Linked DNA regions of Homo sapiens: region 2 is linked to region 1. The links are contacts of gene promoters, found by promoter capture Hi-C in human tissues and cell types (Jung and others, 2019). All regions are on one chromosome and are shown on one strand. The core of a region is centred on a gene start or on the middle of the fragment in contact, and the rest is flanking DNA. Distances in the headings are between cores, read along the strand shown. Region 1 holds the start of ABRA (actin binding Rho activating protein). Region 2 has its middle 68 kb from the start of ABRA.

What was found. The method cuts DNA at HindIII sites, captures the fragments that hold promoters and counts their contacts. A contact is called where the count stands out against the background at its distance.
Region 2: a contact is called between a fragment that was not itself captured here and the fragment with the promoter of ABRA in region 1, in 4 of the 25 tissues and cell types used here (mesenchymal stem cells, mesendoderm cells, neural progenitor cells and 1 more).

Annotation. Positions count from the first base shown.
Region 1 is chr8:106,766,786-106,771,501 of GRCh38, reverse strand. ABRA (actin binding Rho activating protein) reads left to right here and starts at 1,258. Exons shown (of 2, transcript NM_139166.5): 1 at 1,258-1,979. The coding sequence starts at 1,312. The HindIII fragment of the contact is 12,258 bases long and covers 1-4,716 here.
Region 2 is chr8:106,835,746-106,840,350 of GRCh38, reverse strand. No RefSeq gene overlaps it. Among named protein-coding and RNA genes, the nearest start is that of ABRA, 68 kb to the right of the region's middle. The HindIII fragment of the contact is 7,877 bases long and covers 1-4,605 here.

The DNA of each region.
Region 1 (4,716 bases), core at 9-2,508:
CCTTATCTCAAAAAACAAAACAAAACAACAACCACAAACCAAACGGTAAGGGTAGGCGGGATGGGGATAAGAAGTGAGCTACCGATAGCTTTCATTTATTCTGTCCTTAGAATTCTGTCCTTAGATGATCTTTTCAAACAAAGTATTTCAAAATATGTATTCCAACAATAATTTCTTTCTTTCTTTCTTTCTTTTTTTTGAGACGGAGTCTCGCTCGTCACCCAGGCTGGAGTGCAGTGGCTCGATCTCCGCTCACTGCAAGCTCCGCCTCCCGGGTTCACAGGATTCTTCTGCCTCAGCCTCCCGAGTAGCTGGGACTACAGGCGCCCGCCACTACGCCCGGCTAATTTTTTGTATTTTTAGTAGAGACGGGGTTTCACCATGTTAGCCAGGATGGTCTCGATCTCCTGACCTCGTGATCTGCCCGCCTCGGCCTCCCAAAGTGCTGGGATTACAGGCGTGAGCCACCTCGCCCGGCCTCCAATAATAATTTCTAAAATCCAATGTGTATACAGGTTTTAAAAACATTTTTTAATGATTGGACCAAAATTTTGACTCCCTTTTTGTATTTTAATATGAGTTATCTATACAATAGTTCAAAGTTGGGACTAGAAAGTAATTAGTCTTTGACTATCTGGACTTTGGTCTTTCTCGTATCTGGGCTTCAATTTTCTCATTTGGAAAATGAAGATTGGATGAGTTGATTTTCTAAGGTCTATTTCTAATGGAGTTGAATGAAAAAGAAAAAGGCAACTTAGGATCTTTGATAACTGGAATAAAAGGAGGCACACGCTTTGAATTACACAGAGATGGATTTGAATCTCATATTTTATTAGCTGCTGGAAGTTAGATTTTATTTTACTTAGCTATAAAGTGGAACTAATTAGGAGCTGTACTGAGGGCTGCTGGGGTTTAAGTGGGAACAATCCTATAATGTTCCCAGGATAATATGTATGCACCTATAAATGGTAGGACCATATTAAGGTCAGACAAACGTAAGGCTGAGCACATGACTTGATCTAGTAATTTCCACTCTGGCACTTGGAGAAGAGAGTGAGCATATCACTGTTCCTTACCAGCAGAGATGTCCCTCTGCCGTGATGAAACTGGAGCTGTCATGATTTATAAAAAGAACACCATCAGGGCAAAGGCGCCACATCTTGGCAAGAAATGCTTCACATAGTTTCCATCGTCACTAAGCTCTCCTTCCCACCCCGCACCCTGCTTCTATTTAAATCCCAGGCACTCCACTGGACCACACTCATTTTAGCCAGTGTCCAGGCTATCAGCAGAGAAAGACAGGTGGGCAGCATGGCTCCGGGCGAAAAGGAAAGCGGGGAGGGCCCAGCCAAGAGCGCCCTCCGGAAGATACGCACAGCCACCCTGGTCATCAGCTTGGCCCGAGGTTGGCAGCAGTGGGCGAATGAGAACAGCATCAGGCAGGCCCAGGAGCCTACAGGCTGGCTGCCGGGAGGGACCCAGGACTCACCTCAAGCTCCTAAACCAATCACACCCCCTACTTCACACCAGAAAGCTCAGAGTGCCCCAAAGTCGCCACCCCGCCTGCCAGAAGGACATGGAGATGGACAAAGCTCAGAGAAAGCCCCTGAGGTTTCTCACATCAAAAAGAAAGAGGTGTCCAAAACGGTGGTCAGCAAGACTTATGAGAGAGGAGGGGACGTGAGCCACCTCAGCCACAGGTACGAGAGGGATGCTGGTGTGCTTGAACCTGGGCAGCCAGAGAATGACATTGACAGAATCCTCCACAGCCACGGCTCCCCAACGCGGAGGAGAAAATGTGCCAACCTGGTGTCTGAGCTAACCAAGGGCTGGAGAGTGATGGAGCAGGAGGAGCCCACATGGAGGAGTGACAGCGTAGACACAGAGGACAGCGGCTATGGAGGAGAGGCTGAGGAGAGGCCCGAGCAGGATGGAGTGCAGGTGGCTGTGGTCAGGATCAAGCGCCCCTTGCCCTCCCAGTAAGTGAATGCATTCTCCCACTCCTTGTGTCAGGATCACTATTGAGCCCCAACCAAGTCTGGGAATCCAGGCAGCAGATGAAGTCCTGCCAGGGTTAGAGTGAGAATCTCAAAGACTGGACAGGCAGTGAGTACTGTAGAGGAGGGATGTCCCTGGGCTGAAGGTCAGTGCCAACCTTAGACATGGACCTTTTGGTCAGGGCCTGCGCTATTTTGTTTCTCGTTTTTGTTTTGAACTGAACACTCAAGTCTTAGCCTCAACAAAGATGAAGCCATCAGAGAGGGAAGCCTGTTTTTCGTGAATTCTTTAAGTCAGTTCTATAATGAGTAACAAATTGGCTTATTTCTTTAGAGATAAGAGTGGTTTCTGATAGACTCATTGGGGAAACTTTTACCTTGTCCCAAATGTCTATGCTATTATCAGGAGATACGTCTGCTTCAATAACACCCATGGAATACAAATCTCTGACTCTAAACAGGTGGAGGCTGCTGTCTAATTTGAAAGCAGGCTCTGAATGAAGTCAGACAGACCCAAGTTCAAATCCTAGTTCTGCCCCTAACTAGTCATTTTTAAAGGTGATTTCATCAGCTGGGCGCAGTGGCTCAGCCTGTAATCTCAGCACTTTGGGAGGCTGAGGAGGGCGGATCACTTGAGGCCAGGAGTTTGAGACCAGCCTGACCAACATTGGTGAAACCCCATATCTACCAAAAAACACACAAAAATAGCTAGGCACAGTGTTGTGCATCTGTAATCCCAGCTACCCGGGAGGCTGAGGCATGAGAATGGCTTTAACCCATGAGGCTGATGTCGGAGTGAGCCAAGATCATGCCACTGTACTCCAGCCTGGGCAACACAGCAAGACTCTGTTTCACATAAAAATTAAAAAAAGCAGATTTCCTCATTTGTAAAATGACAGCAACAGTAAGCTTTTGGGAGAAGTTCTATTGTATTGGGAAACGTAAATGAGATTAGGGCTACCAAACACAGAGCTTGTCACATATGCTCAATACACGAAAACTATTATTATTCACATAGATTTGGTTACTTTGCAACTTTTCAAATTTTCAAAAACAGTTTGTCCTATTTGTAAACAAATACAGCAATAATTAAAATATCTAGATGGTAAATACACATACATACACTCACATACACATTTACTCAAACTGAAACATGTATATAGACAAGAAACACGTGCTTTATTTCAAGACAGTAACTCCACATGGTAGAAAGTCAGGATTTCTTATTCCACAATGCCAGGGTATCAAAATATAAGAAAAATGTCTGATGTCATTACATTTATAGACTGACTCCCTTTGGGGACAGTTTGATGTGCAAGTGTGTTTTTCAAGTCTTATGAAACAATAAGAAAATAAAGAAAAAAATTGTTACCTAATTTGACAAAAAGCTGTTCCTTTTTTTTTTTTTTTGAGATGAAGTCTCACTCTGTTGCCCAGGCTGGAGTACAGTGGCACGACCTCGGCTCACTGCAACCTCCATCTCCTGAGTTCAAGTGATTCTCCTGCCTCAGCCTCCTGAATAGCTGGGATTACAGGTGCACACCACCACGCCCAGCTAATTTTTGTATTTTTAGTAGAGATGGGGTTTCACCATGTTAGCCAGGCTGGTCTCGAACTCCTGACCTCAGGTGATCCACCCACCTCGGCCTCCCAAAGTCCTGGGATGCATGAGCCACCGCACGCGGCCTAAAGAGCTGTCTTATAGTTTGAGACTGTAAAGGTGTTTTGAAAGAATTAGAACTACTACACTGCCAGCTCTCAAGAAAAATAAAATGGCAAATGGGTAATTACAATAATCTGTCACGTGTTCAGTGTGTGCTGTAGGTGTTTAAATGCTTTGTCGCTTCACTTCTCATAATCCTTTGAGTAGCTATTCACTCATTTCAGGGATAAGAACACCAAAGCTCAGAGGGGAAGTTTGCCCAGCAAATTAGTGACAAAGCTAAGACGTGCCCTACTCCAAATGCAATGTTTTAAAACCAGACATGGTTCCAACCTTCATGCAGTGTCTTGAGGATGCATTCAGAGGTCTGGATTTGTGCTTAATGTAGGAGTTCATGATCAGAAGTAACTATGCTATCCGAACATGAGGAACCATATTCCAAACTCTGGCCTTTTGGATCTTGGGACATGTGTGCTAGAAATGGAATAACGGGGTCCAAAAGAATAAAGACTGAGGGGGCACAATGACAAGATCTTTCTCTCAGCACATTTTAAATTAACTAGAAGTAAGGAGGTGACAGCTGGGACCGATCCTGAATGCATAGTAGAGCTAGACATTCTTTGGCACTTGTCTAAGCACTTTTCATATATTTATTTATTTAATCCCACAATATCCTCATATGATAGGTTATAATCATCATCCCTCTTTGATAGATGGAGAAAGGAGATGAAGAAATATTAGGGAATTTGTATGAGATTTTACAGCCCATGAAATTTGAACTCAGTCATTCTGGCTCTGAGTAAACTGTCTCACCTAAAAGTGGGGAGTGGGATACAGGACCCATCTTGGGGTTCCCCAAATCAGGCTGGCACATGGGCACCTTCTTAATGTGTTGAAATGCCTACGCTTGGAATAAGAGACAATTAGATTTGAATCATGGTTACTTTGGTAATCCTGAGTCTCTCGGTCCTTATCTAAAAAAGAGATGTGATAACTCATATCTCACGGGGTTATTTTTATATTAGCTATGTAAAGTGATAGACTCAGGGGACCTCA
Region 2 (4,605 bases), core at 1,393-3,892, 67 kb before region 1:
CAGTGATTCAGCTGTAGAGAAAGACTCTTCTCAAGTTGTTGAAATCTTTCAGATGGAATTAGTGAATCATAGCAATGAGGATGGAGAGAAGATGGTCTAAGTGGAAAATACTGGGCATCCAGAGAAAGACACTAAAACAAATTCGAATAAGCTGGAGTACAGTGAGGGAGGAGCAGAAAATGGGAGTTTAACATGTTTGATCTTTCCAGGATCCATGAGAAATTATAAATAAATCCTTTATTTAATAGGGCAGCCAGGAAGTGATATATTATTGGGGAGAACTAAAGTTCTTTAAACAAAGTGTTCCAGAGAAATACTGAAACTATGGGGTTGTGTATTAGTCTGTTCTCATGCTGCTCTGAAGAAATACCTGACACTCGGTAACTTAAAAAGAAAGAGGTTTAATTGACTCAGTTCCACAGGGCTGGGGAGTCCTTAGGAAACTTAAAATCATGGAGGAAGGGGAAGCAAGTACATCCTTCTGAGAGACAGGACTAGCTGGATTTCCTAGGCCAACTAATAGCACTTGGGTTTTCCTGTTGAGAGTGGGGACTGAGAGACAGGACTAGCTGAATTTCCTAGGCTGACTAAGAATTCCTAATCCTAGCTGGGGAAGTTGACCACAACCACCTTTAAACACAGGGCTTGTAACTCAGCTCACACCCAACCAATCAGGTAGTAAAGAGGGCTCACTAAAATACCAATTAGGCTAAAAGCAGGAGGTAAAGAAATAGTCAAATCATCTGTCATCTGAGAGCAGAGCGGGAGGGACAATGATTGGGATATAAACCCCAGGCATTTGAGCCGAGAGTGAGCAACCCCTTTTGGGTCCCCTCCCATTGTATGGGAGCTCTGTTTTCACTCTGTTAAATCTTGCAACTGCACACTCTTCTGGTCCATGTTTGTTCCGGCTCAAGCTGAGCTTTCACTCACTGTCCACCGCTGCTGTTTGCCGCCATTGCAGACCTGCCATTGACTCCCACCCCTCAGGATCCGGCAGGGTGTCCACTGTGTTTCTGATTCAGCGAGGTGCCCACTGCTGCTCTCAACTGGGCTAAAGGCTCGCCATTGTTCCTGCACGGCTAAGTACCCGGGTTCATCCTAATCGAGCTGAACACTAGTCACTGGGTTCCACGGTTCTCTTGCATGACCCACGGCTTCTAATAGAGCTTTAACACTCACCGCATGGCCCAAGATTCCATTCCTTGGAATCCGTGAGGCCAAGAACCCCGGGTCAGAGAACAAAAGGTTTGCTGCCATCTTGGGAGCAGCCGCCACCATCTTGGGAGTGGCCTGCCACCATCTTGGGAGCTCTAAGAACACAGACCCACCCCTTAATAGTTCTTCACATGGTGGCAGGAGAGAGAGAGAAGTGTCCAGCAAAGGGGAAGCCCCTTATAAAACCATCAGATCTTGTGAGAACTCACTATCATGAGAACAGCATGGGGAAAACCGCCCCCCCTTGATTCAATTATCTCCACTGGTCCTGCCCTTGACATGTGGGGATTATTACAATCAGGGTGGGATTTGGGTGGGGACACAGAGCCAAACCATATCAGGTTGTCTCTTCAACAAATGCTGCTCAGTAAATGGAATAGCCACAAGAATGAAATTGGTCCCTTACCTTACGCCGTATATAAGATAAACTGAAAATGAATTAAAGGCCTAAATATAAGAACTAAAACTATACAACTATTAGAAGTAAACAGAGTAAAATCTTCCTGACACAGAATTTAGTAATGATTTCTTAAATATGACACCAAAAAGCAACAAAAGAAAAATTGTACTTTAACTGCTACTTCAAAAGACAAACTGTACTTCAGCACAATTTGAAACTTTTATTAAAGAACACTATCAAGAGAGTGAAAAGTCAACCCACAGACTGGGAGAAAATATCGGCAAATCATACTTCAGATGAGGGTCTAGTATCAAGAACACATAACGAACTTTTACAATTTGACAACAAAAAATACAAACAAAACCCAATTGCATGTGTGTGTGTATATATACATGGATTTATATACAAGTATACATATAAATTATCGACGGATTCAATAAATTCATACATATAATTATATATAGGATATGTTTATATAAATTGAATGTTCTCTTGTTGAAACTTCTATATGTATTCTAAATACATATTTAAATTCACATATATATGAATTGAAAACAGATGTTGAGAAACTTGTATACAGATGTTCATAGCAGCTATTCACAATAGTCAAAAGGTGGAAATATCCAAAGTGTTCATAATGGATAAACAAAATTTGGTATATACATACAATGGAATGGGTAAACAAATGGGTAAACAAAATGTGGTATATACATACAATGGAAGAGTCTTCAGTGATATAAAAGGAAAGAAGCACTGCTACATGCTACAACATGGACGAATCTTGAAAGCATTATGGTAAGTAAAAGAAGCCACCTGCATAAGGCCATATCTTGTATTATTCCATTTATATGAAACATCCATAATAGTCAAATTTATAGAGACAGAAAGGGCTGGTGTGTGGAGGAGAAAAAGGGGGTGGATACTTACTGTGTATGAGCTTCCATTAGCAGTGGTGAAAAAGTTCTGGAACTAGATAGTGGTGATGGCTGTATCACATTATGAATATACTTAATGCACTAAATTTTACACTTTAAATGGTTCAAATGGTACATTTTATGTTGAATATGTTTTACCACAATTTTTTAAATCTGGAGTTCCTTCTGGGAACATAGTAGAGGGCCCTAGAGAGGTGTGAAGTTGTATCAGGTGTTGGAGGGATGGGGAACAAGCTGATGGGAGGAGGAGTTGCATAAAGACACTAGAAAGGAAATTTGGGACCAAATTGGAAGAGGCCTGAACATCATACGAGTTTGCGTATTACCCAAAGACTATAAAGAACCATTAAAGAATTTTAAGCAGCAGGGTAAATGGATCTGGCAGTTCTAAAGTTTCTGTAATTCTCTTTTGAATGGAGTCCTGGTAGGGCATCTAAGCAGCTATCAAACACTCCTTTACTGAGAGTTTCATTAGTAAACATAATTAAATTATCCCCCACCCTTTTCAGGAAGCCCAGGCTAAAATGTCCTCTCCTCGTGTATAATTTTTGCTAAATCTTTCTTCCAACTGTAAGCCAAAAGAAGTAGCCAGACTGGTGACCATCTCTGACAAAGTTTTAATACCTCTCAAAGAAAACATTTTGTAAAAAAGTATGAAGACTAATGCCGCCATAAACAATTAGTGGATTAAAGGCCTAGGCCATGTTAAAAGGAAAAAAAAAAATTAGCAAAAATGTTTCCTCTGCTCCTAGGCAGCCCTGAAACCTCCTCCCAGCTGTGGGATGAGCCTTTGTATGTAAGCACAAAAGCCAGGGCTGTTAACATTACAGGGCAGAAAGTCAACTCTGCCATCTGCAAGTCTGGCATGTAAGGCATATAGATCTATCTTTAATGAAAACCACAAGCAGCTGGTACTTTGGGCACTCCAAGAACGCAGGCAGGAATTCTCCGTGATCCAACCCTGGCCCTAAGTGCGCATGAGCACCTGATGCCAAGAGACTTTGGTAAGATCATTGGTAAGTCTCTACTGTTCTCAATAGTCTAAGCGCTACTCTAAGTTAGATGTGTTCATAAATTTCACACGGAGGCCTCATTACCATAGTCCCCCATTTGCAGGCCTTTAGTAGACTTTAAGTAATGTTATAGTTTCAGATTCAAATATCCAACTAAATAATACTTCTTTTGTTTTAAAAATCAACCACGTTAGCCAATGTGTATTGAAGACTCTCCTTGAGTTGCTTAGAGGCATTCTATCCTTCTAGACTCATCTCCCTCTTCTCCCCCAGAGAGCTCCGACTTTTACCCACTTATCTTGTTGTGTACCTACTGATGTGCTGGGTGCTAGAATACAAAGATGATTAAGATATGGTTTCTGCTTTCAAGGAACTATCATAGTCCAACAGAAAAACAGACACTGGGCATTCGCAGGAACAAGGTATCTTTCAAATGTATCTCCCCAGTGCTGTTTTAGTGTCTGCCAAAATTATATGCAAAACATTTTAGAAGCTTTACAAAATTAGAGTCACCTCTCCATTCTAGGCAGGGCCTTACTTTGCATTGTTTAATCACAAGGAGATAGAAATGTAGGAAAATTAGAAGAGACTAGACAAATGGGCTTTAGTGTCTCTTTATGGCTGACAAAATGCTGCGCCAAGCAGTACTTCGATAATACTAGCTTTGCCCCTGCTCTGAGCATGAGGGTGTCATCCCCACCCTAGGCCAGGCACACATTCCACAGCCAAACTTCATGGCACACATTCCACAGCCAAACTTCATGGCCTTGACCAAGTTGATGGCATCAAAAGCTGAGGAAGTGCTATATTCTCTTTTATTGTCTCCTGAGCCTCAAACTGTGCTATCTAATCACAACTTTTACTTATTTTTGAGTCGTGAAGGGGCAAGTCTCTAACATCTTCTAGAAACATTAAAGAGCAGGCAATCTCTGGTCCAGGCGCGGTGGCTCACGCCTGTAATCCCAGCACTTTGGGAGGCTGAGGCGGGCAGATCACAAGCTCAGGAGATCAAAACCATCCTGGCTAACACGGTGAAACC